Linked DNA regions of Homo sapiens: region 2 is linked to region 1. The links are contacts of gene promoters, found by promoter capture Hi-C in blood cells and fetal thymus (Javierre and others, 2016). All regions are on one chromosome and are shown on one strand. The core of a region is centred on a gene start or on the middle of the fragment in contact, and the rest is flanking DNA. Distances in the headings are between cores, read along the strand shown.

The links. Contacts are between HindIII fragments. The CHiCAGO score rates a contact against its expected background, and 5 or more counts as called.
Region 2: a fragment that was not itself captured here is called in contact with the fragment with the promoter of NOC2L in region 1 in 1 of 17 cell types (naive CD8 T cells); the score reaches 5.3 in naive CD8 T cells.

The regions. Positions count from the first base shown.
Region 1 is chr1:954,512-961,425 of GRCh38, forward strand. It overlaps NOC2L (NOC2 like nucleolar associated transcriptional repressor), which reads right to left and starts at 4,745. Exons shown (of 19, transcript NM_015658.4): 1 at 4,704-4,745; 2 at 4,418-4,570; 3 at 2,588-2,762; 4 at 2,383-2,514; 5 at 1,584-1,704; 6 at 1,412-1,502. The coding sequence starts at 4,729. It overlaps KLHL17 (kelch like family member 17), which reads left to right and starts at 6,073. Exons shown (of 12, transcript NM_198317.3): 1 at 6,073-6,289; 2 at 6,782-6,914. The coding sequence starts at 6,183. RefSeq lists enhancers at 4,013-4,870, 4,529-4,638 and silencers at 4,749-5,008, 5,967-6,276, 6,297-6,626. The HindIII fragment of the contact is 14,217 bases long and covers 1-6,914 here.
Region 2 is chr1:1,368,698-1,375,611 of GRCh38, forward strand. AURKAIP1 (aurora kinase A interacting protein 1) reads right to left here and starts at 6,510. Exons shown (of 4, transcript NM_017900.3): 1 at 6,457-6,510; 2 at 6,008-6,093; 3 at 5,303-5,748; 4 at 5,039-5,205. The coding sequence starts at 6,059. The coding sequence ends at 5,104. RefSeq lists silencers at 3,064-3,113, 3,372-3,666, 6,251-6,300, 6,321-6,500 and enhancers at 3,241-4,008, 6,296-6,914. The HindIII fragment of the contact is 2,312 bases long and covers 1,442-3,753 here.

The DNA of each region.
Region 1 (6,914 bases), core at 3,495-5,994:
GGCCCACATTTGCTGCACAAAGAAAAGAAAATCAGAGGGCAGGTGTGGAGACTCATGCCAGTACTCACTGCACTTTGGGAGGCCAAGGCAGGAGGATCAAACTCCAAGCCCAGGAGTTTGAGACCAGCCTGAACAACACAGTGAGACCCCGTCTCTACAAAAATATACAAAATATTATCCAGGCCTGGTGGCGGAGTCCCAGTTACTTGGGAGGCTAAGGTGAGAGAATCACTTGAATCCAGAAGGTACGTGTCGCAGTGAGCTATGATCACTGCATTCCAGCCTGGGCGACAGAGCAAGATCCTATCTCGTAAGGAAAAAAAAAAACCAAAAACCAAACAAACAAAACAAAACAAAACAAAACATTTACCAGAGCCCACGCAGTAGGCGCTCACTAAAATCTGCTGAAGCATGGGAAGGACAAAGGGCAGGGCCCCAGAAAGGCCCCCCGTCCTCGACCCTCCTCACACCTGTGCTGACACTGGCTGCTGGGCACCTGCAGCTGCCCACCCAGACCCAGGAGGCAGCTCTGCTCCCCACGGCCTGACTCCCTCCGGTACAGCTGCTGCCTCGACAGGGGTCCCTGACCTGGTGGCTCAGGCTGCAGTGCGTGCTGCCTCCCAATCGCTGCCTGTCCCTCCACCCCCATCTGCCAGCTTCCTTGTCCCCTTCGGACAGCACTGCCTCCATGTGGACATGGCTCTGTTCTATCCGTCCAGCCCCGACCACTACCACCAGCAACAGTGCCCCTGTCTCCTGAGCCGCTGTCGGCGAGACCTCTCCTGTGGGTCTCCTTTCTTCCTTTGAAGGTGTCCTGGGGCAGTTCCAACTCTAGGCCTCCACTGCCTCAAGGTCACATGGCTGCACAGCCCCGGAACCCCAACGTGCTCCATGCTCTACCAAATGCTTGGCCGTGCGTCTCTCTTCTCTGAAAACCTTCCACGGCCTTCTCTGCCCAATCTTTCTCTAAAGGGGAAGTTGAGGCCCTCAGGTTCTCAGCATTGATGAGGCCCCTGTCTACAGACACACACAGCTCCAGGAAACAGGCCAGTCATAGTGCAGAGATCAAGGAGTATGGACAGGACTTACAAGTTCTTACAAAGGGAAATAGAGCAAGAACCCTAACCTGGGAAAATCTGAGAGCAAAGGCAGCTGCACACGCCACACCTTCTGAGACTCTGAGCAGACAACTTCCCTTTTCAGGAAGGAAAGAAGGTGGGGCCGCTCCAACTGGCCCCAAGTGCCCAGCCTCTCCCAACGGTCCCTCGTGCCCCGCTGCCTTCTCAGGGTCCCCAAGAAGACGCTGGCTCTGTTGCCATGTCTCTGTCCTAGCCACAAGGCCTCTGGCTTCTCCTGTGTGTGGTCCCGACCCACCTTCCACCCTACCCCCCTTCACCCCCTCCCCTCTTACCTGCTGCTATCCTTTGCCACCTTTCCAAACAGCAGCTTCTGGAGACAGCCAATGAGGTCTCTGATGCAGAAGGTAACCAGAGCATTGAATGCTGCAACGAAAAGGCCTGGATGTACTCACGGGACAGAGAACGCAACAGACAGCCTGGATGCCAGGCTCCCCCCAAGCTCACCAGCACTGTCCGTGACCTGGAATTTGTTGGCCTCAGCACTTTCCTGGTCCCCTCGGGTGGTGGCCACAGCTGCTCGGAACGCCTGTACCACTTCATGGAACAGCTTTGGAGTGAGGCGTTGCTGAAGGAGCAAGAGTACCAGGGGCGTCAGGGGAGCTGAGACTGCACTTGGCAGAGTGGAAACGGCAGCCCCAGAGAAAGGCACCCTCACCCTCACCCTCAGACATAGGGCAGAGGTTGGGGGGAGGCACAGAGCCCCATACTGATAACAAAAATGGAAACAAAGTCTAGAATTCTCTGGGAAGAGGAGGGAGTCTGGCTCAGGAGCCCCAGGAAAAGGACTGGGAGTTCCAGATCCTGGACTATGGCCACCTCCAGGTGGTATCTGGAGCTCTCCGTATCCTTGTCCCTGGAAAAAAACACTGTGAGAGGCTCAGAAGGACCCCAGCTCCACCAACCAACAAAGGCACAGTCCGTCCCACCCACAGCGGGACTGACTTTGGGGAGTGGGGCGCCAACAGAGCCCCTGGAATCTACCCAAAAGTGAACACACAGTCCTGGGGCAACCAAGCAAGCAGGAGGAGCAACGTGTTGTCACTTGCGCTGAAGAAGGCTCCAAGCGTCCCCTGCGTGGAGAACAGCCCCTCCCACCAGCACAGCCTCAGGCGCCTCAGGTGAGGCAAGGCCAGATCTCTGCCTGGGCACCCAGCTGCCCGCCCCTCGCTGCTGCTCACCTCAGGTGAGGCAAGGCCAGATTTCTGCCTGGGCACCCAGCTGCCCGCCCCTGGCTGCTGCTCACCTTTGCTGCCTGCTTCCATCTCTCAACCATGGCGACGGTCACAGGAACAGAATTCTTCTTCCCCTTCAGCCCTCTGGGGACTCTGTCCCCATCTTCTCCTTCCTCCGCTCCATCCTCCTCCTCACTGGCTTCCTGCACAGAAAGGCTGAGCTGAAGGAGAGTGTAGAGACAAGTGCCCCCCTTCTGGTTTGGCCCACGCCCTCACCTCCAGCACATCTGGCAGGGAGTGGAACGGCCCCTCTTCCTCCTCAGAGCTGTCCGAGTCGCTGAAGTTTAGCAGGCTCTGGTCATTCTCCTGCAGGAACTTGTAGAACTCGGGGTCTCTGTCCTTCAGCCGAGAGAGCTGGTCTTTGTGCTCAGAGGCACGGCCTTTACGCCGGCTGAGGAGGCAGAAGTCAGCGACCCCAGTGGGAAGTGGAAGTAGAGGGGGCGGGGAGTGGCCTACAGGGTCAGTCTACTCCCTTCACAAGGGTTACCAACTAGCAAGACAGGATTGCCAGGAGGTACGTTTTTGGCAGACTCACGTCTCCTACCCAACAACCTCTACAACATACCCTCAAACACACTACACAGGCCCCCCAGCCGCGGTCTTCCCTGGACTTGCTGTGCCTGCGCCCTGCGCTACACAGGCCCCCAGCCGCGGTCTTCCCTGGACTTGCTGTGCCTGTGCCCTGCGCTACTTTTGCCTGATGGTGGCTTCACCCTTCCAGAGGCTCAGACTAAAGGCAAATCTCTGTCTCTAATACCCAGCACGCAACTTGTCATCAGATCTCATCAGCAACACCTTCAAAACCGTTCGTGCCTCCTCTCAAACCACCACATAGTTCAATTCTCAGTTAACCTAAAGGTCTCTCTGTTTCCACCCTTGTCACCTACAAGGCACTCCACCGCTCAAACCCAGAAGTAACTCCCTGTTTTACGAGGCAATCTTATGACGGTCTACGGCACCTGGCTCTTCATCACCCTTCTGGGCTCATCTACCCCTATTCACCCCCTCACTCCTGCCGTAGCCACGTTTACCTCTGTACTCTCCCCAAATGCTCCCACTGCAAGGCTTTTGCTGTTTTCTGCTGCCTGAAATCCTAAGACACGTTTCCCCTACTGTCTGTGTGGCCTCCTTGTTCGAGGTCTTTATTCAGACGTCATCTTCTCAAACAACCACCTCCGCTTTTTTTTTTTTTTTTTTTTCTCCTGAGGCGGAATCTCACTCTGTCGCCCAGGCTGGAGTGCAGTGGCGCAATCTCCACTCACCGCAACCTCCGCCTCCCGGGTTCAAGCGATTCTCCTGCCTCAGCCTCCCGAGTAGCTGGGACGACAGGTGTGTGTCACCACGCCAGGCTAATTTTTGTATCTTTTGATTTCTTTCTTTTTCTTTTTGAGATGGAGTCTCACTCTCTCACCCAGGCTGGAATGCAATGGTGCCATCTCGGCTCACTGCAACCTCCGCCTCCCAAGTTCAAGCGATTCTCCTGCCTCAGCCTCCCGAGTAGTTGGGATTACAGGTGCCCACCACGCCCGGCTAATTTTTATATTTTTAGTAGAGACATGATTTTTCCGTGTTGGTCAGGCTGGTCTCGAATTCCTGACCTCAGGTAATCTGCCCGCCTCGGCCTCCCAAAGTGCTGGCATTACAGGCGTGAGCCACCGAGCACAGCCTCCGCTCCTTCTAACAGAGCAACTCGGCTCCCCTGCAACTCTCTCTTCAGCCCCTCTGTCCTTCCTTTCCCTCCCCAGCACTTATCTCTCTTCTACCGAACTGCAGGCGGTGATTTCACCCAAGAACGTGAGAGTTCTCCTAGATCGGGAAGAGATTTTTGCACAACTCACCAACATACGCTCCCTGCCTAGGACAGAGTTTGGCACGGAACAGGAGCTCAGTAAACATCGGATGAAAGAGTAAGTTAAGCTGAAAGGACTGGGGGGCAGAGGTCGGCGATCCTTAGGCCTTGGCCCTGAGACCCCAGGCGAGGTCAGCAACCCAACCGGGGTGGGACAGGACGAGCAAGAGGTTCTGCTCACGCATGTCCCCACTAACCTGGCCGAGGGGCTCCCGCCCGGCTTATCCGGACTCCGGGCAGCCTCGCGTGCTTCCCGTGTCTCCGCTTGTGGAGAATTTTCGGACTCGGATTCGGACTCGGAGTCAAAGCCCGAAGCTAGGAACTCGTCCACCGTCAGCTCCGCCAGGCGCCTGCGGGTCACGCAGGAGTCACAGCTGCCCGCACGCCCAGCTCGCCCCAGCCCCGCTGAGAGGAGCAAGAAAAGCCCCCTTGGATACAGACACCCACCGGGAGGCCAAATCGGCCCTCGGACCCGCGGCTTACCTCTTGCGGCTCCCCGCAGCTGCCATGACACCAACCCGAAGCGTGCACCCCACTTCCGGCCCCAGAATGCCGCGCGGCTGCGCACTTCCGCCGCCCAGGCCCCGCCCCTTTCCCCGCCCCGCCGCGCCACGCCCAGCCGAGTGGCTCTATGGTTCTCCGACCGCAACGCCGGCGGCCTCAGGGCGGGAGGGCGCGTTCGCGTGCTCGGTGCGGGCAGCCCCGGTGGGGCCCAGATGCGCCTCCCGCTCGGCGCCCGGCTCCGTAGGACGCGGTGACGCCGGTGTCCGCCCCGGGGAAGACCGGGAGTCCCGCCGCGCCCGCAGCCCACCCGGCGCTCCGAAGGCACGCGCCTGCGAGGACGCCAGACTGCAACGGCGGGGCTCCTATGCAAAGAGCTCCCACAAATCAACAATAAAAAGCAGGGAGTCCAGTGGAAAACGCGAGGGGCAGTGGGAACCGCACTGATGTCGCCAGCTCGACAAAAGACGGGCGACCCGAGGGCCAGGCTGGCTTCGCCTCCGATCCGCGGAGACCGGGCCAGCGCCACGAACACCACGCAGGGCGCTCCCCGTCCATGGCCCTCTGGGTGCCGACCGCGGCTCTTCCCGGGGACGCCGCACGGGACGAAGACGGTGGGGAGGCCGGCGCCTTCCTTCCCGCTACCAGCCTGACACCCGGGCCCCCGGGCCTGGACAGCCAGACCCCGCGACAAGGGCGCCGCGGGGCGCAGGCACGGCTCCCCCAGCCCTGGCGCTGAGGGGGCGCGTGAGGCGAACACGGGCGGATTGGCCTCGGGGTCCCATTCGACTTCTTGGTGCCGCGGGGCCCCGGGGCTCCCCGGAGGAGAGCAAGTTAGGGGGTCGGGGGAGCGGGGATGGCTTCCGGGGGAGGAGGAGGGCGAGGCCTGGGGGGCTCCTCGGAGGAGGAAGAGGGCGAGGCTTAGGGGGGCTCCTTGGAGGAGGAGGAGGGCGAGGCTTAGGAGGGCTCTTCGGAGAAACAGGAGGGCGAGGCCTGTGGGGGGCTTCCCGGGGAAGAAGGAAGGCGAGACCTAGGGGGGCTTCCCGGAGGAGGAGGAGGAGGAGGGCTAGGCCGGGGGCTTCCCAGAGGAGGAGGATGGCGGGGCCTGGGGGGCTTCTCGGAGAAGGAAGATGGCGAGGCCTAGGGGGGCTTCTCGGAGGAGGAGGAGGGCGAGGCCTGGTGGGGGGCTTCCCGGAGGAGGAGGATGGCGGGGTCTGGGGGTGCTTCTCGGAGGAGGAGGCGGACCCGGGGCGCAGCGCTGGAAGAATCCGCGTCCAACGTCTAGTCCCCGAAGCCTCTCGGGAGGCGGGGCGGGCGGCGCCGAGAAACAGCGGCTGCGGGCGGGAGCGGCGGGAGTGAGCGACACAGAGCGGGCCGCCACCGCCGAGCAGCCCTCCGGCAGTCTCCGCGTCCGTTAAGCCCGCGGGTCCTCCGCGAATCGGCGGTGGGTCCGGCAGCCGAATGCAGCCCCGCAGCGAGCGCCCGGCCGGCAGGACGCAGAGCCCGGAGCACGGCAGCCCGGGGCCCGGGCCCGAGGCGCCGCCGCCTCCACCGCCGCAGCCGCCGGCGTGAGTGGGCGGGGGTCGGGGCGCGGGGGGCGGCCTCGGGACCTGCGCGGCCCCCGCCCTCGCGTCCGCTCGCAGAAGGGGCGGGGGCCGCTTCCGAGGGCCGGGGGAGGTCGGGACTCAGGTGCGGAGCGGGGTCGGCCCGGAGTAGGTTCCCCACCCGCGCCCCGCGCGCCCAGGACGCGACTCCCGCTGCGGTCCCGAGAGGGCGGCTAGGGACGCGGAGGAGCTGAGCTCGTGGGGGCGCCGGGAAGCGGGGCCGGACGCGGGGCTCTGTTCGCGGCTCTGACTACGCCCCAGGGGAGCAGGGGCGCAGCGGAGGCCTGGACACGGCGCGCTCCGGGGCGGGGGTCCTTGGCGGAGGTCAGGCGAGGGCTGCCGGCGCCCCCGTCGCACCAGGGGCTGGGTCCCCGCGGGCTGCCCGGGCCCCCCAGCGGCTCCAGGGCGGGCGGGCGGCTCCAGCGGGGCGAAGCCTGACCCGCCCGCCTCCTGCAGCCCCGAGGCAGAGCGCACGCGGCCCCGGCAGGCTCGGCCCGCAGCCCCCATGGAGGGAGCCGTGCAGCTGCTGAGCCGCGAGGGCCACAGCGTGGCCCACAACTCCAAGCGGCACTACCACGATGCCTTCGTG
Region 2 (6,914 bases), core at 1,348-3,847, 410 kb after region 1:
CACTGCAGCCTGGGCGACAGAGGGAGACCCTGCCTCTTAAAAAATAAAAATAGGTCTGGCTGGGCGTGGTGGCTCACGCCTGTAATCCCAGCACTTTGGGAGGCCGAGGCGGGCAGATCACCTGAGGTCAGGCATTTGAGACCAGCCTGGCCAACATGGTGAAACCCTGTCTCTAATAAAAACACAAAAATTAGCCGGGCGTGGTGGTGCATGCCTGTAGTCCCAGCTAGCAGGGAGGCTGAGGCAGGAGAATTGCTTGAACCTGGGAGGTGGAGGTTGCAGTGAGCTGAAATCGCGCCACCGCACTCCAGTCTCGGGACAGAGTGAGATACTGTCTCAAAAAAAAAAAAAAAAAGGTCTGAAAGTCACCAACTTTAAAACATGGTACTACCGCAAGAATCATTTAAAAGGACTAAAATTGCCTCTGGGAAAGGTGGTGTGGGGATGGGGGAAGAGATACTGTTTTCCTTTATTTTTGAGATGGAGTCTCACTCTATCCCTCAGGCTGGACTGCAGTGGTGCGATCTCGGCTCACTGCAAGCACCACCTCCCGGGTTCACGCCATTCTCATGCCTCAGCCTCCCGAGTAGCTGGGACTACAGCCGCCCATCACACCTGGCTAGTTTTTTGTATTTTTAGTAGAGATGGGGTTTCACCATGTTGTCCAGGATGGTCTCGATCTCCTGACCTCAGGTGATCCACCCACCTCGGCCTCCCAAAGTGCTGGGATTACAGGCGTGAGCCACCGCACCCAGCCAACTGTTTTTCTTAAAGGAATCTTTTTTCTTTTTGGAGACAGGGTCTCGCTCTGTCACCCAGGCTGGAGGGCACTAGCACAACGGCAGCTCACCGCAGCCTCGAACTCCTGGGTTCATGCATCCTGTCACCTCGGCCTCTGGAGTAGCTGGGACTACAGGTACACACCACCATGCCCAGCTGATTTTTTATTTTGTAAAGACAGGGTTTCACTATGTTGCCCAGGCTGCTCTTGGAGTCCTGGCTTCATGCGATGCTCCCAGCTCCCAAAGTGCTGGGATGACAGGCGTGAGCCACTGCGCCTGCTGGTGACTTCTTAAACAATTAAACTAGCCACGTACAAGCATAACTTTTTTTTTTTTTGAGACGAAGTCTTGCTCTGTCGCCCAGGCTGGAGTGCAGTGGCATGATCTCAGCTCACTGCAAGCTCCACCTCCAGGTTCACGCCATTCTCCTGCCTCAGCCTCCCGAGTAGCTGGGACTACAGGCGCCTGCGACCATGCCTGGCTAATTTTTTGTATTTTTAGTAGAGACGGGGTTTCACCATGTTAGCCAGGATGGTCTCGATGTCCTGACCTCGTGATCCGCCCGCCTCCGCCTCCCAAAGTTCTGGGATTACAGGCGACAGCCACCGCGCCTGGCCCACAAGCATAACTTTTATAAAAATAATTTACTTTTACAATTAAGCTTAGGAATCACACAGACTCAGGGCTGGCTCATGGCTTCCCGGCAAGTTAAACTCTGTACTTAGGCTCGGCGCGTATGAAATGGCTAATTCTAATCAGTGGTGCAATGAAGTAACTCCTCTAAAGAACTTATCGGGCCGGGCGCAGCGGCTCACGCCTGTAATCCCAGCACTGTGGGAGACCGAGGCGGGCAGATCACGAGGTCAGGAGTTCGAGACCAGCCTAACCAACATGGTGAAACTCCATCTCTACTAAAAATACAAACATTAGCTGGGCACAGTGGCACACACTTGTAGTCCAAGCTGCTCAGGAGGCTGAGGCAGGAGAATCGCTTGAGCCTGGGAGGTGGAGACTGCAGTGAGCCGAGATTGCACCACTGCACTTCAGCCTGGCGACAGAGAAAGACTCCATCTCAAAAAAAAAAAAAAAAAAGTAGTAACCTAAGAATGAGAGAAACATGGCATTCAGAAACAGGACCCAGACTCCTCCAGCCTGAAATAGGAATGTTCTTTCCCCCCTCCCAGTGCCCTTCCCGGGAGGCTCGGGGGGTCCAGCCCAGGGAAGCCAGCTTTCCTCCCAGACTCCACTCCACGCCGAGGGTCTCTGTTGCCACCGCCAACCTGCGTGCTTCTCAGACGGCGTGTTCAGTGAGTGCTCAGCTCGGCTCCCTGGAGGTTCTGGGCTTGGCACACACGTGTGCTGCCTCCCTGCCCCCCAACACACACACATCTGAAGCAGGCAGGGCCCTGGGTGGGCACCGGGGGTGGGAGCTGAGGGCCTTGCCCATGGTCCATGAAAGCTCTGAAGCCATAGCTCTGCGGCTGGTCAGGCCCCAGGCCCCAGGCTCGGCCCCCGCGGAAGGCGCAGAAGACACCAGCTTGCCAGGGACGCAGCAGCCAGAGGAAGAGGCGTGGGGCTGAGTTCACCAACGTGCCCCATTATGGAGGCCACTGATGAATGCCACCACTGGGCGTGAGGTTGGGGCACCATCCCCACTGACCAGGACCATCCCCAGCAGAGCCAAGTCCTGGTTGGAACTGGAGCTCTGAACACCACCAGGACACGCTGTGGTGAGGGGCAGGTCGCTGGCAGCTCCACAGGCCCCCAGCCCAGCCCACCCCACCTCTGGCCCCTCACCCAGGTGATGCCCAGGGCCAGAACAGGGGAGAGGCAACAGAGAGAGGGGGGTGCATGTCTCACAGGCAGGGGCAGGGTGGAGGCCCCACAGAGAAGAGGGGAGGGACGGCCTCTTGTGGCCTGGGAGCAACCGCAGAGATAAAAATAAAACCCCAAAATTGCTTCCCAAGGTTGTGGTTGGGCAACAAAGGCTTCCAAGCCAAGGCAGGGTGAGCTCTGCAGGCTGGGCAGGATGTGGGTCTGCAGGAGGGGCCTGGGTTGCGGGAGCTGGAGTGGACAGCTGAGGCACCGCCTCGCCGGGATGGTGACGTCTGGAGCAGGGGTACCCACCGCTGCTGACGTGAGCTGATGGGTTCGTCGTGGGGATGTCCTCATGGTGCAGGGTGTGTGGCAGCATCCCTGGCCTCCACCCACCCATGCCAGTAGCACCTCCCACTGACAACCACAGATGTCTCCAGATGCGGCTCAAAGCCATGGTTGACCTGCCTCCCAGGAGCACCCCAAGCCGGCCCCCACGCAGGGGTGGAGGAGGCCGGGGCCAAGGGGGGTCCCAGGGCTGTGCCTGAGCTGGGTAGGGCTGCTCCCCACCACGGGCTGCCCAGCTGAGCTCTGCAGGCTAGGACTCTGGACAGGTCCACTCAGCTTCCCACATCTCCTCCCTCATACAGGGAAGGGGGAGGTGAGCCCGGGATGGAAGGAAACGCGGGGGGGCAGCAGCACTACAGAGGGTGCCAGTGGTGGCCAAGAGCACCGGGAGGCTGGGGCAGGGCCAGGCTTGGCACTGAGCGGGCTCCACTTCACCTGGGAGAGTTTCGGCCCTGGGAGCCCTGCCCCACTCACAGCTGGGAAAACAGACCCAGGAATGATGCCTGTGACCCCAGCTGGGGCCCCACAAGACGCTTCCTGCCACCTGTCCTGGTCCCCAGCCCTGGACCCAGGAGCCCGGCTGCTGCCCCCCTGTGGTGGTCTGGGGAAGCGCACTTCCACCCGCTACAGCCTCCAGACCCCTCCGTGCACTCAGGGACCCACAGCCAAGGCCTACTGACCTCGCTGGCTGGCACGTCCAGGGCCCAACTCCCAGGACAATGTGTGACCCACAAGTTCGTCCTGTTCTAGAGAAACTGCTGGGAATAGCGCTCAAGTCCTCCCCAAGGTCTGATGGGCAAGGAACTCAAGCTTGAGTCTCAGACACATTTCTGTGACAAAAGACAAGAGGCCCCCACGTCTCTGGTGAGAGGCAGCCCAGCCTTCAGCCTTCACACACGGTGGGGGAGAGGCTGCGGCTCCAGAGCCTCCACTCAACCGCCTGGGGCGGACGCAAAGGCCCCTCTCCTGTCGCTGAGCTGTTGGGGGCAGCAGCTTCCCAGTGCCCACCCATGCCCTGCTACCCAAGTCCAAGGGCCCCTGCACATCCCTGCTCTTAGGAATACCATGTTCCAGCCAGGCGCAGGGGCTCACGCCTGTAATCCCAGCACTTTGGGAGGCTGAGGCGGGCAGATCACTTGAGGTCAGGAAATCGAGACCATCCTGGCCAACATGGTGAAACCCTGTCTCTAACAAAAATACAAAAATTAGCCGGGCTTGGTGGCGGGCACCTGTAATCCCAGCTATTCAGGAGGCTGAGGCAGGAGAGTCACTGGAACCTGGGAGGGAGAGGCTGCAGTGAGCTGAGATCGCACCACTGCACTCCAGCCTGGGTGATGGAATGAGACTCTTCCTCAAAAAAAAAGGGGGGGGGAATAATGCGTTCCTCCTCTTCACCCAGAGGAACGTGGAGACACCAGGGGCCTCTGGCTCAACCTAAGCCTCAGGGATTCTTCGGCCCTGTAAACGAGACCCTTTCCTCAGCCACCCCCCAGCCCCGAACCCCTTCTGGGACAACTCTTCCTGCTTAGTCCCCACGTCCACTCAGGGCCCCAGGAGATGGCAGACATGCCTGGGAAGGCCAACACCCTGGCCCTGTAGCCGGAAAGCTTGGAGGGCCACTGGAGGATCACGTCCACGGAGCCTGGCGGGCACCATCCACCACTGCCAGTGGTACCAGAACCTTTCCTGCCTTCCCAATGAGGCCCTCCCCGACCCTCCACTCATGAAATACACCTGAATCACCCCGTGCATTCCGGGTGCTCCCTAAACCCCAGTCCTGTCCCCCTGTACTTCTGCCATCCGGGTCGGCCTCCCCAGGGAATGTGGTGCTCAGGGAGGGGCTGTGGGATCTGTTCACAGTGATCCCACAGCACCTAGCCTGAACTGCACACAGCACACATTTGCTCACAGCGAGGCTGGGGCTCCTACAGGCCCAGCACCCTCTGGACGGCGGCCAAGAGCCAGCTAGAGAGAGGGACGGCCAATCTGCCACCCTGCTGCCCGGGTCTTCTGCAACACCTGGGACTGGCAGCAGCCTCAATCCTGAGAGACCTCACACCCGGCAAATGGAGCTCCAGACCCGCAGGAAAGGCTGAGTCCTCTGAGAATTTATTACTACGGATCACAGCAGCAACGGGCGGGAAGGGCGGCGCCAGACTCATTTGCCCCGCAGGTAGATCTTGGGGGTCTGCCAGCCTTCGGGGGCTTCCTTTAGCCCCGCCTTCAGCCAGATGCGCCTCAGGTCTTTCTCGAACTTGATCTGCAAGACGCAGAGAGAGGGACCGCCAAGTAATTCGTGGCAAAGAAACGTGTTCTCAGCACTTTGCCCTCCCAGGGCCAAGCAGGGGGCCACTCACCTGCTTGCGTCTCAGGCGTCCCTCCTGGACCTTCCTCCGCAGGAACCGCGTCTTCTTCACCAGCTTCCGGTACTTGTGGTGGTTCATCTTCCGCCGGCGGATCTTCAGCACGTTTTTGCACTGAATTTGAGGCGCATCCGCGACGCCTTCATCCCCCTGCTCGGCCCCTTCCCCTATCTGGCTGGGCGGACACTGGTAGGATTGCGGTGGAGCCACAGTCCCTGCGGTCCCGGTATCCAGTCTGGGCAGGAAGCAGCGGGCCGTGAGCCAGCTCTCCAGGGGGCTGACGGACATCTTCCTGGGGACCAGCATCTCCTCCAGCTCCAGCTGGGCCCCCTTGCGAGGGAGAGAGGCCGCCCTACCTGGGCCGGCCGGCGATGTGCTGTAAAGGGGCCCGCAGACCCGGCTGCCCAGCACTCCAGAGACGGGCCAAGGCGGGCGGCCGCCTGCAGAAAACCAGACGCCACGGTCACCGCTCGCGAGACCACACAGGCCCGTCGGGTTGAGGAGCAGCAGGTTCGTCCCAGCGAGGATCCCCCGCACCTCATTCCTGGCCTGAACCCCTGAGGTTCCCTCTGTGAGCATCGGAAGCTTAGAGGGGAAAGAGTGTGTGTGTGGCCACCGGCCCTGCCCCAGCGGAGCTGCTGAGACCCGCACTCCTAACCAGGTGTGCATCCTCCCATCCGCCCCCGCGCGGCTTCCTACCTGCCCAAGGAACGGCCCTCAACAGCTGGGAAGTCAGGCGCCCCAGGAGCATGGTCTGTGGGCGGCGGCCACAGGTCCCAGGGGAGCTGGAACACAAGTGCCCGTTCAGGTCAGGCGGCAGCGCCTTCAGTAGTCGCGGGCGGGCCGGGACTGGGGCGTCTGGTCCCGCCGCGACCCTCGCTTCCCTTCTCCCTCCGCCACCCCAACCCACAAGGAGGACTTTGCTTCCAACACAGCTCGCGCCCCGAGGCTCCCAAGCCCCCGACGCGGGCGGTGTCGCGCTCGGACGCACCGAAAGGTCCCAGAACGGGGAGGCCGGCCCCCTCCCCGGGTTCACCCCCGCGCGAATCGCGTTGCCTGGCGCCCGGACCCTCTCGGCTGGACCCCGGGCCCGCCTGCCGCAGCGCCCGGCGCCCTCAGGCCTCCCGCTGACCCTTCCCAAGCCCGACCTCGACGCGGCTCAAATTGACCGTTCTGCGGCCGCCCTCGGGCACTTCCGGTCCGTCCCCAAGTCGGCCCCGATCGGCAGCGGCCACCCGGCGGTTCCTACGCACAGCGCCCGCTGGCGTCCTCGCGGCCCCCGATTCTGCATTGGCTCAGGCCCCGCCGGGCCCGAAAGGCGACGGTTTCCGGTTAGTGGAATCACGGTCCCAGTCCTCGCGCGGTTCCTCAGCTCCGCCTGGTCCCTTACGGAGGCAAAAAACTACATTTCCCACAATCCCAGGGGGTGCGGGCCCTGGATATACCCGCAGGTCCAGAATCGTTTCCGGACCACCCAGGGGCCGGATTCCCAACGGGCCGACGGAAGTGCGGGCTCAAGACTACGGAAGTGACGTATCTGGCAACGGAAGTGGAGTTACGTGGAAGGCGGAAGCGTCTAGAGCTATTTCCCCCGTTTTTGCTAGAG